Regions from separate parts of the Homo sapiens genome. Here regions 1, 3 and 4 are each linked to region 2. The links are contacts of gene promoters, found by promoter capture Hi-C in blood cells and fetal thymus (Javierre and others, 2016). All regions are on one chromosome and are shown on one strand. The core of a region is centred on a gene start or on the middle of the fragment in contact, and the rest is flanking DNA. Distances in the headings are between cores, read along the strand shown. Region 1 overlaps PITX1-AS1 (PITX1 antisense RNA 1). Region 2 holds the start of TXNDC15 (thioredoxin domain containing 15). Region 3 holds the start of UBE2B (ubiquitin conjugating enzyme E2 B). Region 4 overlaps CDKN2AIPNL (CDKN2A interacting protein N-terminal like).

Evidence for each region. The method cuts DNA at HindIII sites, captures the fragments that hold promoters and counts their contacts. A CHiCAGO score of 5 or more calls a contact.
Region 1: a contact is called between a fragment that was not itself captured here and the fragment with the promoter of TXNDC15 in region 2, in 1 of 17 cell types (M2 macrophages). The highest score is 5.3, in M2 macrophages.
Region 3: the fragment with the promoter of UBE2B here is called in contact with the fragment with the promoter of TXNDC15 in region 2 in 11 of 17 cell types (fetal thymus, non-activated CD4 T cells, naive B cells and 8 more); the score reaches 12.1 in fetal thymus.
Region 4: a contact is called between a fragment that was not itself captured here and the fragment with the promoter of TXNDC15 in region 2, in 1 of 17 cell types (fetal thymus). The highest score is 5.8, in fetal thymus.

Annotation. Positions count from the first base shown.
Region 1 is chr5:135,209,168-135,212,437 of GRCh38, reverse strand. The region is part of intron 3 of PITX1-AS1 (PITX1 antisense RNA 1); the gene reads right to left. Among named protein-coding and RNA genes, the nearest start is that of LINC02900, 37 kb to the left of the region's middle. The HindIII fragment of the contact is 2,458 bases long and covers 531-2,988 here.
Region 2 is chr5:134,872,617-134,875,698 of GRCh38, reverse strand. TXNDC15 (thioredoxin domain containing 15) reads right to left here and starts at 1,328. Exons shown (of 5, transcript NM_024715.4): 1 at 1,169-1,328. The coding sequence starts at 1,271. It overlaps LOC124901071 (a long non-coding RNA gene), which reads left to right and starts at 301. Exons shown (of 2, transcript XR_007058943.1): 1 at 301-455; 2 at 567-868. RefSeq lists enhancers at 693-762, 656-1,361, 1,293-1,582, 1,603-1,652 and a silencer at 943-1,052. The HindIII fragment of the contact is 3,704 bases long and covers 1-2,208 here.
Region 3 is chr5:134,370,160-134,373,481 of GRCh38, reverse strand. It overlaps UBE2B (ubiquitin conjugating enzyme E2 B), which reads right to left and starts at 1,913. Exons shown (of 6, transcript NM_003337.4): 1 at 1,843-1,913. The coding sequence starts at 1,886. It also overlaps a transcript of CDKL3 not described here. RefSeq lists enhancers at 1,581-1,680, 2,621-2,690, 2,199-2,794 and a silencer at 2,101-2,150. The HindIII fragment of the contact is 3,578 bases long and covers 1,684-3,322 here.
Region 4 is chr5:134,407,535-134,410,608 of GRCh38, reverse strand. It overlaps CDKN2AIPNL (CDKN2A interacting protein N-terminal like), which reads left to right. Exons shown (of 3, transcript NM_080656.3): 2 at 607-706. Among named protein-coding and RNA genes, the nearest start is that of CDKN2AIPNL, 2.8 kb to the left of the region's middle. The HindIII fragment of the contact is 868 bases long and covers 929-1,796 here.

The DNA.
Region 1 (3,270 bases), core at 510-3,009, 340 kb before region 2:
GCCTGCGCTGGCTCCATCAAACCAACCTCCACTTTAAGAAGCAAGTCCTTCCTCCTTGTCCCAGCGTCAGAGTGGGGAGTGAGCTACCCACCACTGGAAGCCTTCCAGCCGGAAGACCCCTCGCACTGTGGACATCGCAGGACACTGCGTGGAGGCTGGAGGAAGCCACCACCTCTAGCTTTGAGGGCCTATGACTAGTGAATCGGCATCTCTCCAATTACCATCCTTTCAACCCTGGATTTTCTCATCTAAGTTTTCTGAGTATTATTTGGTCTGCCTTATCACAAAACAATAATGAAAACCATTTGGTGTCAACTGTAATCTTGGATCAAGGCCCAAGCCTGTTGTTGGTCTAGAGAGGCAAAGGAACTGCAGCCAGCCTTCACTGAGCACCTCATCCCGCCAGGTAGCACCATGGTAGAGCTAGAGGTGAAGGCAATGGCTTTGGACAGCACAGACCTGGACTGGGATTCCAGCTTCACCACCTAGCAGCTGTGCGACCCTGGGCAAGTTACCTAATTCTCTAAGCTTTCATTTCCTCCTCCACAAAGGGAAAATAACAATACAACACTAAGGGGCTGCAGAGATGAATTCAGTGAGTGTGTGCAGCCCTGCACAAAGTTGTAGTTCAGGACCAGCAGCATCAGCATCACCTGGGAACTTGGTAAAAATGCAAACTTTTCACCTTAGACCTACTCAATCAGAACCTCTCGGGGCGGGTCTCAGCAATCCCTGCTTCACAAGCCCTCTGGGTGATTCTCACGTACACTGTAGGTTGGAGAACCACTAAGCTGTGTGTGGAAGGTGATTAAGAACTGGCATCTGCCACGCAAGCTACAGTCACAACTGCAAGAATCGCCATCTGCCCCTCCTGTCTCCCTGGAGACAGGAGGCTCAGAAAAGTCAAGTCACTTCTCCAAATTCAAACAGCTAGAACCCAGGCAATGTGACTGCTGGGGCCACAGCCTTCCCACCACACCCTGCTGTCTTCCATTTAAAGCTCAAATCCTAATGCGGAGTAAGTGCTGAGGATGTTCTTTACAGGGCTAAACAGAGGCGAGTGTGGGTAATAGTTGTAAACACTCTATCACTCTGCAGGGAAAGCGAGAAGACTAAGAATAGAAATCATCCTTCCTAAAATATAAGGATGCAGAGCCTCTCAGGCCAGAGATGACTTCATTTCTTAGGAATAAAGGGCACTGGATACACAGAGGGTTCTCCAGGACACAGCTGCTGGGTACTCTTAGGAATGCCCAGGCATCTTAACAGCACTAACAGTAGCTATTTGAGCTATCGATTTCTTTAGTACTTTTCTAACACAAAATGGAAAACACAATTATCAGCTAGTCATGAACTTTGTGACTTTCTCTCCAGGTCTCAGTTTCTCCATGTGCAGACAGGGGAAGCAGTAAGCACCCAAATGCTCTATAGCTTGAGGAAGTGCTGTTTTCCCCTTCCCCATCTGCAATTTGGGCTGAGGCCTCCTCCCAAGGACAGGGTCTCCTTAGCTCGCACTGCACGGAGTCCCAGTGCACTGTGCACCTACTGTGTGCAGACCACTGGTCACATCCGCAGCAAGCACTCATATAAGCCGGAGCCCCAGGCTGACAGGGAGAGAGAAGAGTGTGTCGGTATCTGGGAAACCATTTTGCAGAGAACTCACAGAAACCAGGACCACTGCTGCTCTGCCTCCATGCCTCATCATGTCATCCCAAATTAAAGACCTCTGTGGGCTCTTTGCTTTCAAGAGGAAATTCAAGCTAAATTTAATCTGCCTCAACACCCTGTCTGGCAAGCACTAGGCCCCCAAAAAATGCTTTTATACCAATGCACATAAAGCGATTCACTCACGGTACACCCACCCCCAAACTCCATAAAACCCTGCTGGCCTTATCGGCCCCTGCAAAGCTCCTACAACCACAAGACTGGCACACGGCCTGCAATTCCACCAGGAGCTGCTCTTAGCTGGCCCTCACTCACCACACTCTAGCCACACTGATGGTTTTTAATTCCACAAGGAAACCAAGCTCTGCCCCTACCCCAGAGCCTCTGCAGCATGCTAGTCCCTCATCTGCACTGCTCCTCACTTACTGGGTTCCATCCCAGTCTTTACGCCTCAGCTCAAGAGTTACCTCCCAAGAGAAGCCACTGTATCCAGACTAGGTCCCTCTATCCCATTTGTTTAATAGCACTCTTCACAACTTGCCATTGTCTTTTAGTCTCTTTGTGCTTTATCTGACTATCCTTCCCACTCTAATGAAACAGCTCCAGTAAAATGGGCACCATGTCTGTCCTGCTCACCCATGTATTCCTAGTACCTGGTACGCTACAGGTACAAAATAAATGTTTGTAGAATGGGTGGGTGAATGACTGAGTTCCCAGGGAGAGATATTAAAAATAATTACCATCATCCACAATGAATAGAGGGAGTGATGGGGTTCCCTGGTTGGGGAGGTGTGGATGGGGCAGGCAGGGCAGGCTCCTGCCTCCCTCTCAGAGACTGGTGGGACAGACAGAGAATGGCACCAGAAAACTCACCATAGGACCGATGGTGACATTCTGCCCTATCACTAGCTACCCCTGAAGAGGGCATCTCAAACAGCCTGTGGTCCATGACCACAACATGCAGGCCAGGGTCTGAGCCCTAAGGGAGGAGACCTTTCCCTTCCCAGCCTACCTGTACCTTCTCAAGGTCTGCTGTGGGCCAGGGTCACTGGTGGGAGATAGGGAAGGGCACCCTGGAGAGTACAGCAGCCATCGGCACCATGTTGACAGGCCCCAATGGGAGCCTGATCTCATCACGTCTTCCCTGCTGACAAAAATGCAGCTCCCTGGGTGGGGACACTTACAGAGAACATCAGACCCCATGCCCAACCCCCCATATAGATCCCAGCCAACATTTCCAGTTTGCGAGTTTCTCTAAGCAGATGTGTGCCAGACTGGGCTGGATTACCATTGTAACATTTGCCTTTCATGGGAGTCTAAGCTTCTCCCTCCCAGACTTAGATTTGAAACAAGCTGTGATGGATGTTCATGCTAATAGGAAGACTAACAGCTGGTCACCATTTATTTATGCAAAGAACTTCACGTGGGGAGAAACGTCTACATACCACATCATCAACTAGACACCATTCTGTTACCACGCACAGGCCTGCCGTGTGGGGCTTCCTGCTAAATTAGAGTCCTCCTGTCCCCATGGCTTCTCCTGCCCAGGGATCCCTCACTGAGGAGGAGATGAGGCTGAGGAGGGGGTTTCTCCTCGCATTCATG
Region 2 (3,082 bases), core at 79-2,578:
GACTCCATCTCAAAAAAAAATAAAAATAAAAATTACATAAACCGGGAGCAGTGGCTCACATCTGTAATCCCAGCACTTTGGGAAACAGGTGGGAGGATCACTTAAGCCCAGGAGTTCAAGGCTGCAGGGAGCCATGATGGGCCACTGCACTCCCGCCTGGGCAACAGAGCAAGCCCTCATCCCTTAAAAAAACAAAAACAAAACAGTAAAGATTCCAAAAGATGATGCTCGTAAAGCACTGAGCACAGCATCTGGTACACAGTGAGCGCTTTCATTCATGGTAATTGTGTTACTATGACTCACCCTTCTCCACAACTCTCTGCTGTCCTGCCTCCATCCAGGACACCCCAGGGAAAAGAAAGACCTGCCTATTCCTGTTAAGGTCTAAATGACAAGCGAGACCGAGGGTCTGGACTTTAACAGGACTATGAGGAGTGGGGTGAAGGAGCATGAAAGTAAGGCCTCCACTCTCCACCCTCGCCATGCCTCTAGAGTGGCTGCCTTCCCTACCGGCAAGTTGGGGGTTACCGGGAGTCTCCCGTGTTTCTCGTCTGTTTTTCATGCAGGGAGCTGAGCAAGACTGGCCTCCTTAAGACAGTGGTCCAGCAGCGTGGACTCCAGACTGGGCTTTGGCGTCAGAGAGACAGGCTTCTGCCACGTATCAGAAGCGCAAACTTAGGCGGGGCCTGAGCATCTTCATCTGTGAAATGGAGACACTAAACGGAACCGATCTGACAGGGTTTGTGGGAGCATTAAATGGGATAATGATGTAAATAAAGCACGATGCACAGTTCCTGGCTCCTAATACGGCCACAACAATGTCGGTATTTGATATAATGTTATTAATAATAAATTGCTTATCACCAGAGGGTATGCCTCAGCAGCGCTTACCGCACTGTCCCTCCTGGCTACCAGCCACGGGCTGAGGGCGGCCTGAACGCGGCCCAACCACCCCCGGGCTCCCGTCCACCGGCCCTCAGCCCACCGGCCCCCTTTCGCGGGCCACCAGCGGGCGGTGCGCGGGGAGAGAAGTCGGGGAGACGCGCCCGGGGAGACGCCAAGAAGGGGCGAGTCGCGCACCGCCGGCCTTCGCGCAGGTCCAGAGCGTCGCCCGGGTGGACCTCAGCTCGCCCCATCATCTCATGCACCGCCCCCGGCCCACACTCACCCTCCACGCCGCGGACGGGAAGTCCCAGCACCCACAGCAATACTTGCCACCAGCCGAGGAGCCGCATGACGCGGGGCGGTCGTCGACCGGCAGCCGGGACCATTGCCCAGGCCGAGAGGCAATCGGCGCACGGCTACGCGAGTCGTGCTGCCAGCCGGAGGAAGGCTGGGGGAGGAGAGCCTGGGAGCGCGGGCGCGGCCCCGCGCCGCCATCTTAACACCTGGCAGCTGTGGCGGGCGCCATCTTGGAGTCGGGCGGACGGCCTCTAGCCGCTGGCCGTCGGCGCTGGACTGGAGACCTCTTTAGGAGCTAAGCGCCAGACGTTGCAGGTCGTTTTGAACTCTGCTGACCCCAGAGTGCAGAGCATGGCTCTGGCAGAGGCCCATGGCCTCCTTTCTTCCCTCGGAAGTCAGAGCTTGGCTACTTGAAGCACTGCGCCCGCCTAAGGAGGGTTTTCCACGCTTCATTCCCAGAGCCAGAAAGGCCCAGGAGCCTTCCTGTTCTAGTGTCCCATCGAGGTGCAGAAACTTTGGAGGCTGCAAATCTTCTAATCGCTTGCCTAACCTGTGCTCCCCTACCTAGGGTTGCCACATAGAATACCTGATACCCAGTTATATTTGAATTTCACATAATGAATATTTTTTACTATAACCCTTATAGTATAAGGGATATACCTTAAAACTGAGCATCCTGTAACTTCGTGACATCTGGCAACCCTAACCCTACCTATCCACTCAGGGCAGGAGAGGTTGGTTTTAACTGATTTACCTTGCAGGGCAATCTCTTTTTAATCATGGTTGGGGCCGTGAGCATCATTGGCTCTGGCTCATGGTGGAGGTGGAGCCACCTCGAGCATAAAGTAGATAGGAAAGGGCTTAGAATGAAGAAAGCATAGATGGGGAGATGAGGAACAGGGCTCTGCATTCCCAAGCAAACGCACAGAGCGGGAGTCTTAAGAGAAAATTCTTGGAATAGAGAGGATGACACCACTAATTGGGGTATTTTGCCGGGGGGCCTGCTAAAATGGAATAAGGCAAGCTTTAAGCAGCCACCAGTCAGTGCTAAATCAGTGCAGAGTGCAGCTTTTCAAACTTATGAGGTTGAAAAAATAGAAACTGATTTAAAATACATCAGTCTATTGGTTAACATAGCAATGGTAAGGGGAACCTGTGCTTTTTGGCCGCTTGGTGAATCCCAACTTCAGCACATGTGATAGTTCACAGTCAGCAGGTTATGTAACTTAAAGTTAAGTTTCTTCAGCTGTAAAGTGGAAATGACGTTATATAGAGTCTTATAGATGAAATGAGATGTAAAGTGATGAGCACAGTGTCCTGGGGCACAGGAAGCATTTCAAAGTGGTAGGCATTATTAATTGAATAATACAATTCTGATGGTGTGGCCATAGTCCCCTTATCTCTATGCCCATCAAAAAGACACTGTTAGGCCAGAAAGATGCATCATTAATCTGTCCCTGTGGATGATTCTTTTATTCTAAATACGTTGGTATGGTTTTGCTGTTGTAGATCCTCAAGTGCCATCTTGTGGGTCCAGAAGAATATGAAACAATGGACATGGATAAAAGAGCCCACAGTTCTAGAGCTTATTACTAGTCATCATTTCGCTAAGTACCTCCCTCACCCCTAACAGTGGAACAACAAACCTTTCCTTTTTAAACTATCTTTCTCATACCCCCATACATGATTTGAAGGTGCATGAAAAGCCAACAGGACAGAGCACCAAAAGGATTTATGACTAATGAAAAGGAAGCTGATCTGGATACTCCAACATGGATGCCCTGTGGTTACTACTCCTTCCTTTTTATTATCTCCTTTCCTTTCCTGTATGTGTGTTTGTTTGATTTTTTTATTTTTTGAGACAAGAGTTTCGCTCTTGTTGCCCAGGCTGGAGTGCAAT
Region 3 (3,322 bases), core at 664-3,163, 500 kb after region 2:
AAAAAAAGAATTGATGTATATAGACTGTCCTCTTATACCAAAAAAAGTTTAAAACCTCAAAAGCAAGTAATATTTTTACAGAACCATTGATTTTGCTGCTCTAAACATGCAAAGACTGTGTATCCTAACCAGGCTACTTCTGCAAAATGGCTACAAGAAAAAAAAAAAAAGCAAACCTCAGTGTAAACACAAAATGACTGAAAACACATTAAATTTAACTAGGAAACTAGTATTAGGCAGCAGATTTACTCTATTCCTTTTGCTTCAAACAGCAATGGCTTTAAAAAGTAATTAGTAGGTTTTCTGCCAGTCCCTATTTTAAAGGCTCTGCACTAACACCAAATCCACCTCTCAGATCAGGAGACTCAACACAAGGCTTTCCAACATTCGTCATAGTCAAATTCTTGTAACCTGCAGATCTCTGGAAACTACAAAAGGTGCCATGCATTCAACTCAGAATTAAGCAGAGCATTACAGTAAGGAGCCAGGGCGACAATGACATGAACTAGTTTACTATCTGAATTTGTCATGAGTGCTAATCAAATACGCTGATTTCAAGCTTTAGAAAGATGACTTTTGCACCAAAAAGGGCATCTCCTTTCAGAGACTGTAACCTCAATTAAAAATGCTACATTATATACACACACAAATACATATGCAGTTGTTTTTCATGGGGCATCATAATTTGCAACTAGTCCACATTAAAAAAATGGTTTTTAGTCAATCTCAAGCAAATTAGGCCACCACGAACAGAAGCCTTAGAAGAACTGCACTGCTTGACGCCTACCTTTAAATGGCTAAGAGAAGCTACGAATGAATTAAATAAGTTGGCCAAATCCAAGTGCCTCACATAGGCTTTATAATAGCTGAGAGGTGACTTCCTGAGCGACAAATCTAAGTTTTTATGCTAGATATTTTGTTCAATTAGGGCAGGTGTCCCCAGAAAAAATGTTAAGAAAAATGTGCAGAGTATCAAAATGATGTTTTCTCACTTATTTTTTCTATGTCTCTAAGTATCCAATAAAAGGTAAACAACGGAATAATCATTTTCTATCTCACAACCCCAATACCTCCTAACAAAACCCTATTTTATTTACCAAAGGAGGCCCAGGGAGTATCAGATTAGCGCCAGTCTAAGGGAAGGCATTTTTCCAGACTCGGGAGGCTATAGATAGGGGCTTTCTTCACCAGCCAGAGCTGAGTTCCAGAAAGCACTGGCAGCCGGGGTGGCCAGCTCTAAGGTCCCAGATCTCTAAGTCAGTTCCCAAGGTCCTTTCAGGCGGGCGGGGACAGAGTCGGGTTTCGGGGGATGGGTTAACCTCCGGGCCTCACGCACTGGACCCCACCCTCAGGGCACAAATGGAAAGGATTGGCAGGAGTCGGGAGAGGGGTTCGCCCCAACACGGCTCCTCGGAGAAGACGGCGGGGCCGTGAAACAAAGCTGACTGGTGCTGCCGGAGAGGAACAAGCTCCCGCAGGAGCTCACTTTGAGGGGACAAGAAGGGGGCGCCGCAGGGTGCAGGGGCGGGCGGATAATGTCTGATCGCCTGGGCGAGACGCCGGGCAGCTGGCCGAAATGGGCAGCAGGGAACCCTAGACCAGTCGATCGACACCGTTTTACTTTTTGTGGGGAGGGGAAGCAGTATCAAAATTTCTTCGGGCGCCAGAACGAGCGGCAAAGCTTATGGGAGTAGGGCCGAGGCTAGGACCCGGCTTCCGCCAGTCCCGCTGGGCCCACAGCCGGCCCTCTGAGGGTCACAAAGGGGAAGGTGTCTGGGATCCACGCCCTGCAGCCCCGCAGCTTTGAGGGGCCGTCATCTAGGCGAAGGTGAAGGCCCTTACCGCTTGAAATCCCGCATGAGCCTCCTCCGGGCCGGGGTCGACATGCTCCGCAGCTGCCCCGCGGTCAGTCTGAAAAAAAAAAAGTCCCGCGCAGCCCCCCCACCCCCCGGCGCGGCGGCCGAATCACTGTGGATCGCCGCCGCCGCCGCCGCCGCCGCCGCCGCCGAGACTGACAAACAACCCTGCAATGACGTCTCCCTCCGCCGCCTCCGGATCCCTCCGCCCTCCGCCGCTACCACAGTGTGAGTGCTGGGGGAGGAGGGGGCGGGACGCGGGAGCGCGCCTTCCCCGAGCCCTTCAGCGGGGCGCGGTTCCCCCTGGGCTTCCTGAAGTAATAGACAAATTTGTGTTCTCTGTGTTCAGACTAGAGGTTGTGGATTCAAAGACCACGAAACAGAAACACTATCCCGTCTCCCTCCCCGTCACTAGTTTAGGCTCGGCGGGGTGGAGAAAGAGGGACGCATCCGGGCCAGAGATTTCAGGGAAAGGAGGTGGGATGATGTAAGATCACGTGACTGCCCGCGGCCTTGTCAACAATCCACCCCTGAGTGGGAGGGGGAGAAGTATCTAGAACCACGTGTCCCTATGACGCGTTTAGAACGGGTCACGTGAGCGCCTCGCCTGGATGTGAGTTTCAGCCAGGTCTGTGAAGCGGGTTTAAGAGGGTGAGGGCGGGATAAACCTTTATTAGTTGTTTTCTGTTTATCACAGGTATAGAGACAACATTACCCAAGAGGTCATGGCAGAATCAACAGCTTGTTTTGTTTTCTTTAAACCGGGACCAAAAATAATTCCCCTCTGGTTGGTTCAGTGGCTTATTAACTCTGGTACTTGGGGCAAGAAGAGTGAGAGGATCGCACGATCTTCTAAGGCAGCCTTGAATACTGAGGCCCACACAACAATCTCCTGAAATGGTTCCTTGAAGCTACCAGATAGTCTTTCTGCTTTGCAGTGGGGTTTCTAGTATTGGAAATTCTGGGCAAATATTAAAGGATGGTGTATTATGCAGTTTTTCCTTTCTGGGTCTGCTTTCAATTGAAGATATGTGTCAGAGTCCGGGGACTTGCCTATGGTGGGGGAGTACCATTGTATTTTTAAGGAATGTGGGGGTGCAGTCTTCCAAGCATATCAATGAGTGGTTGGTTGTCAAAGAAACCTACAAATATGATTCATATTCTGGGGGAGAGCTCCGGCAGACATGAGTGAGGGTTATATATCTAGCCTGAGATAACTTCAGGTTTTCTACACTAGCAAGAAAGGTGCAAATGGGCCAGAAGGGCCCCCCACCACCAGGGGGTTCAGAGGTGTTGACCTCCCAAAGACCTTGAATATTTTCTGTGGTCACCGTCCTTCCCTCTATTGCTTCCAATTCCTACCTTCAGGACTTTGTTATACTAAGGACTCTGAGTACTTTTGTATCCATTTGGGGAACTGTTCAGTTCAACAGGTAAAGGGAGGGTGGAATGAGGACCTTAACATT
Region 4 (3,074 bases), core at 113-2,612, 470 kb after region 2:
TAATGTTTTTGTTAGACTAACATTCCATGTATTTAAAAAATAAAAATATTTTGGTCCTCATCCTGTATCTGAGAATATCTGTTGCTGGATGTACAGTGCCTCTGTTCTTCTAAATCTTGAAACATCTGCTGTACTGGTATTTCTGAAGTCCACTTCTGTATCTACAAGCAAGAAGTGTTCACAGGGCCAGGCACGGTGTCTCACGCCAGTAATCCTAGCACTTTGGGAGGAGGATCACTTGAGGTCAGGAGTTGGAGACCAGCCTGGCCAACATGGTGAAACCCTGTCTCTACTAAAAATAAAAAATTAGCCAGGCGTGGTGGCACACGCCTGTAATCCCAGCTACTCGGGAGGCTGAGGCAGGAGAATTGCTTGAACCTGGGAGGTGGAGGTTGCAGTGAGCCGAGATCACACCACTGCACTCCAACCTGGGGGACAGAGCAAGACTCCATCTCAAAACCTTGTGGGGAACATGTATAGGTTTGCCCTGCAGTATCAGGTCAGTTCTCTGAGAGCTGATTTTATAGTTGAGCAACCTGCAGTTTCTTATTAATCCACAGTGACAATTGTTCCAAGGTTTTTACCTTACTACTTTTTATTGTGCAGTTACAATAAAGACCTTTTAGACAAGGTGATGGAAATGGCCGATGGGATTGAAGTGGAAGACCTGCCACAATTTACTACCAGAAGTGAATTAATGAAAAAGGTAAATAGGATTTCCAAGTGCATGTGATGAAATGGTGTAGAGTTAACAGTCCCTGCCTTGATGACACTATATTAGAGTATATTGTTTTTGAATGCTCTTTACTGCCCCAAAGACCTATACCCTTTCATTTTTATTTCCCCATAATTGGTATAAGCCTTTTCATAAATAGTTGACAACTCACTGTGGTAAATTATGCATTGTTGATGAGGTAACACATAAGCTTAACCTCTTCCGGTTGTTTAGGAACATTGTTTTGAGATTTTTGCTTGATGTTTAAAAAGATGTTGGCTAGAATACTTAAGTTTCCTACTTGTTAAAAAATCTCATTGGTAAGACTCATCCTTACCCCAGGTGTGAGTGCCGGTGTGAGTGCCGACCTGACTTGTTTGGCTTCTGTGATTTGCTGATAAGAACGTGCCTGGAGCAATGTCGATGGCATAGCTGTTCTCTACCCTTTGGGGTCTGATCTCAGGCGATGGGCTTTTTACAGTGAGTCTTGCCTAGAGTCTTGAATCTGGACACTGGAGCTGGGGCTACAGAATGTGGCAGAAAGAACCTCAGAATATGGAGCTGGGCATCCCAGCTATTAATACTTTTCAGAATCACCTCCAAAACATGCTTGTTTCACATTTGTCTGCTCAGGCAGCAGAATTAATTGCTCGCTTATCTTCTGAAGTTCCTTTGGCACTTTATCCAGGGCTCTTTTAAAGCAGTTGTGACCTTACAGATGGTGTCTAAAGTTCTATTTAGTCTTTACAACTCCCAAACCTAGTATACTTATACCCCAGAGAAGGTACTCAGAAAATACTTATAAAATCGACTGAAGCAGTAGAGTAAAAAGCTGCTGGCCCCTTTTTAGGTCTGCCCTTAGAAACATAGGTAAGCCCATTCCTCCACATTTAGGTCTTGTCTTGGGAGGTGGGGCACATATAGAGGTCCTCTTCCATATGGGTGTCAAGGAACTAATCAGATTCTCAGTTGCTCATAAAGTATTTCAGTCCCAAATAGTACACCCCACTTGATTTTCAGGATGGTTTGTTTTTCTTAAAAAAGTATTCTTTTAGTTTTAATCTGAACCTGGGGAAAAGCTTCAGGTTGGTTTTCGAGATGCTATTATGTTTTAAAATCAGCTGTTACCTCAACACAGTACTCCTGACAAAAAATCAGTAAGTAAAATCAGCTGTTTTTTTGTTTTTGTTTGTTTGTTTGTTTGTTTTTGAGAGGGAGTCTCCCTGTGTCGCCCAGGCTGGAGTGAGGTGGTGCGATCTGGGCTCACTGCAAGCTCTGCCTCCCAGGTTCACACCATTCTCCTGCCTCAGCCTCCTGAGTAGCTGGGACTACAGGCGCCTGCCACCACGCCCAGCCAATTTTTTTTTTTTTTTTTTTTTTGTATTTTTAGTAGAGACGGGGTTTCACCGTGTTAGCCAGGATGGTCTCGATCTCCTGACCTCGTGATCCGCCCGCCTCGGCCTCCCAAAGTGCTGGGATTACAGGTGTGAGCCACCGCACCAGGACTAAAATCAGCTGTTAAAAAGGGGCTACTGTTTTTAGCCAGGGAGCAGTGTGAATTGGGAGTGTGTGGCTTTTTGGATCTTCTCATGTAATACTTAAAAAAATACTGGGCAGTCCTTGGGTGTTCTATAGTAAGGTTCTTGGGGCCCAGCCAGGGAGGAGCTAGATAGTTTCTGGCTACTGGAGTATACCTTATGGGGCAGGGGCAGGGGCAGAGGTAGGCAGGGAATGAGGTGAGCCTTTATTTTTAATTTATTTTTTAGATAGAGGCTCACTTTGTCACCCAGGCTGGAGTGCAGTGGCACGATCTCAGCTCACTGCAACCTCTGCCTCCCAGGCTCAAGTGATTCTAGCGCCACAGCCTCCCCAGTAGCTGGGATTACAGCCGGGTGCCACCATACCCAGCTAATTTTTGTATTTTTAGTAGAGAAAGGGTTTTGCCATGTTGTCCAGGCTGGTCTTGAACTCCTGGCCTCAAGTGATCTGCCCAGCTTCCCAAAGTGCTAGGATTACAGGCGTGAGCCACTGCACCTGGCCGAGCCTTTATTTTTTAACTGCTTGTGATAGATTCTTTCCTTTTTGTTTCTAAGAGGTTTTCTGATTTTCCTTTTTTTTTTTTTTTGAGATGGAGTTTTGCTCTTGTTGCCCAGGCTGGAGTGCAATGGTTCAGCTCACTGCAACCTCTGCCTCGCGAGTTTAAGCGATCCCTTGCCTCAGCGTCCCAAGAAGCTGGGATTACAGGCGCCTGCCACCACGCGCGGCTATTTTTTGTATTTTTTAGTAGAGATGAGGTTTCACCATGTTGGCCAAGTTGTTCTCGAACTCCTGACCTCAGGTGATCCACCCACCTCAGCTT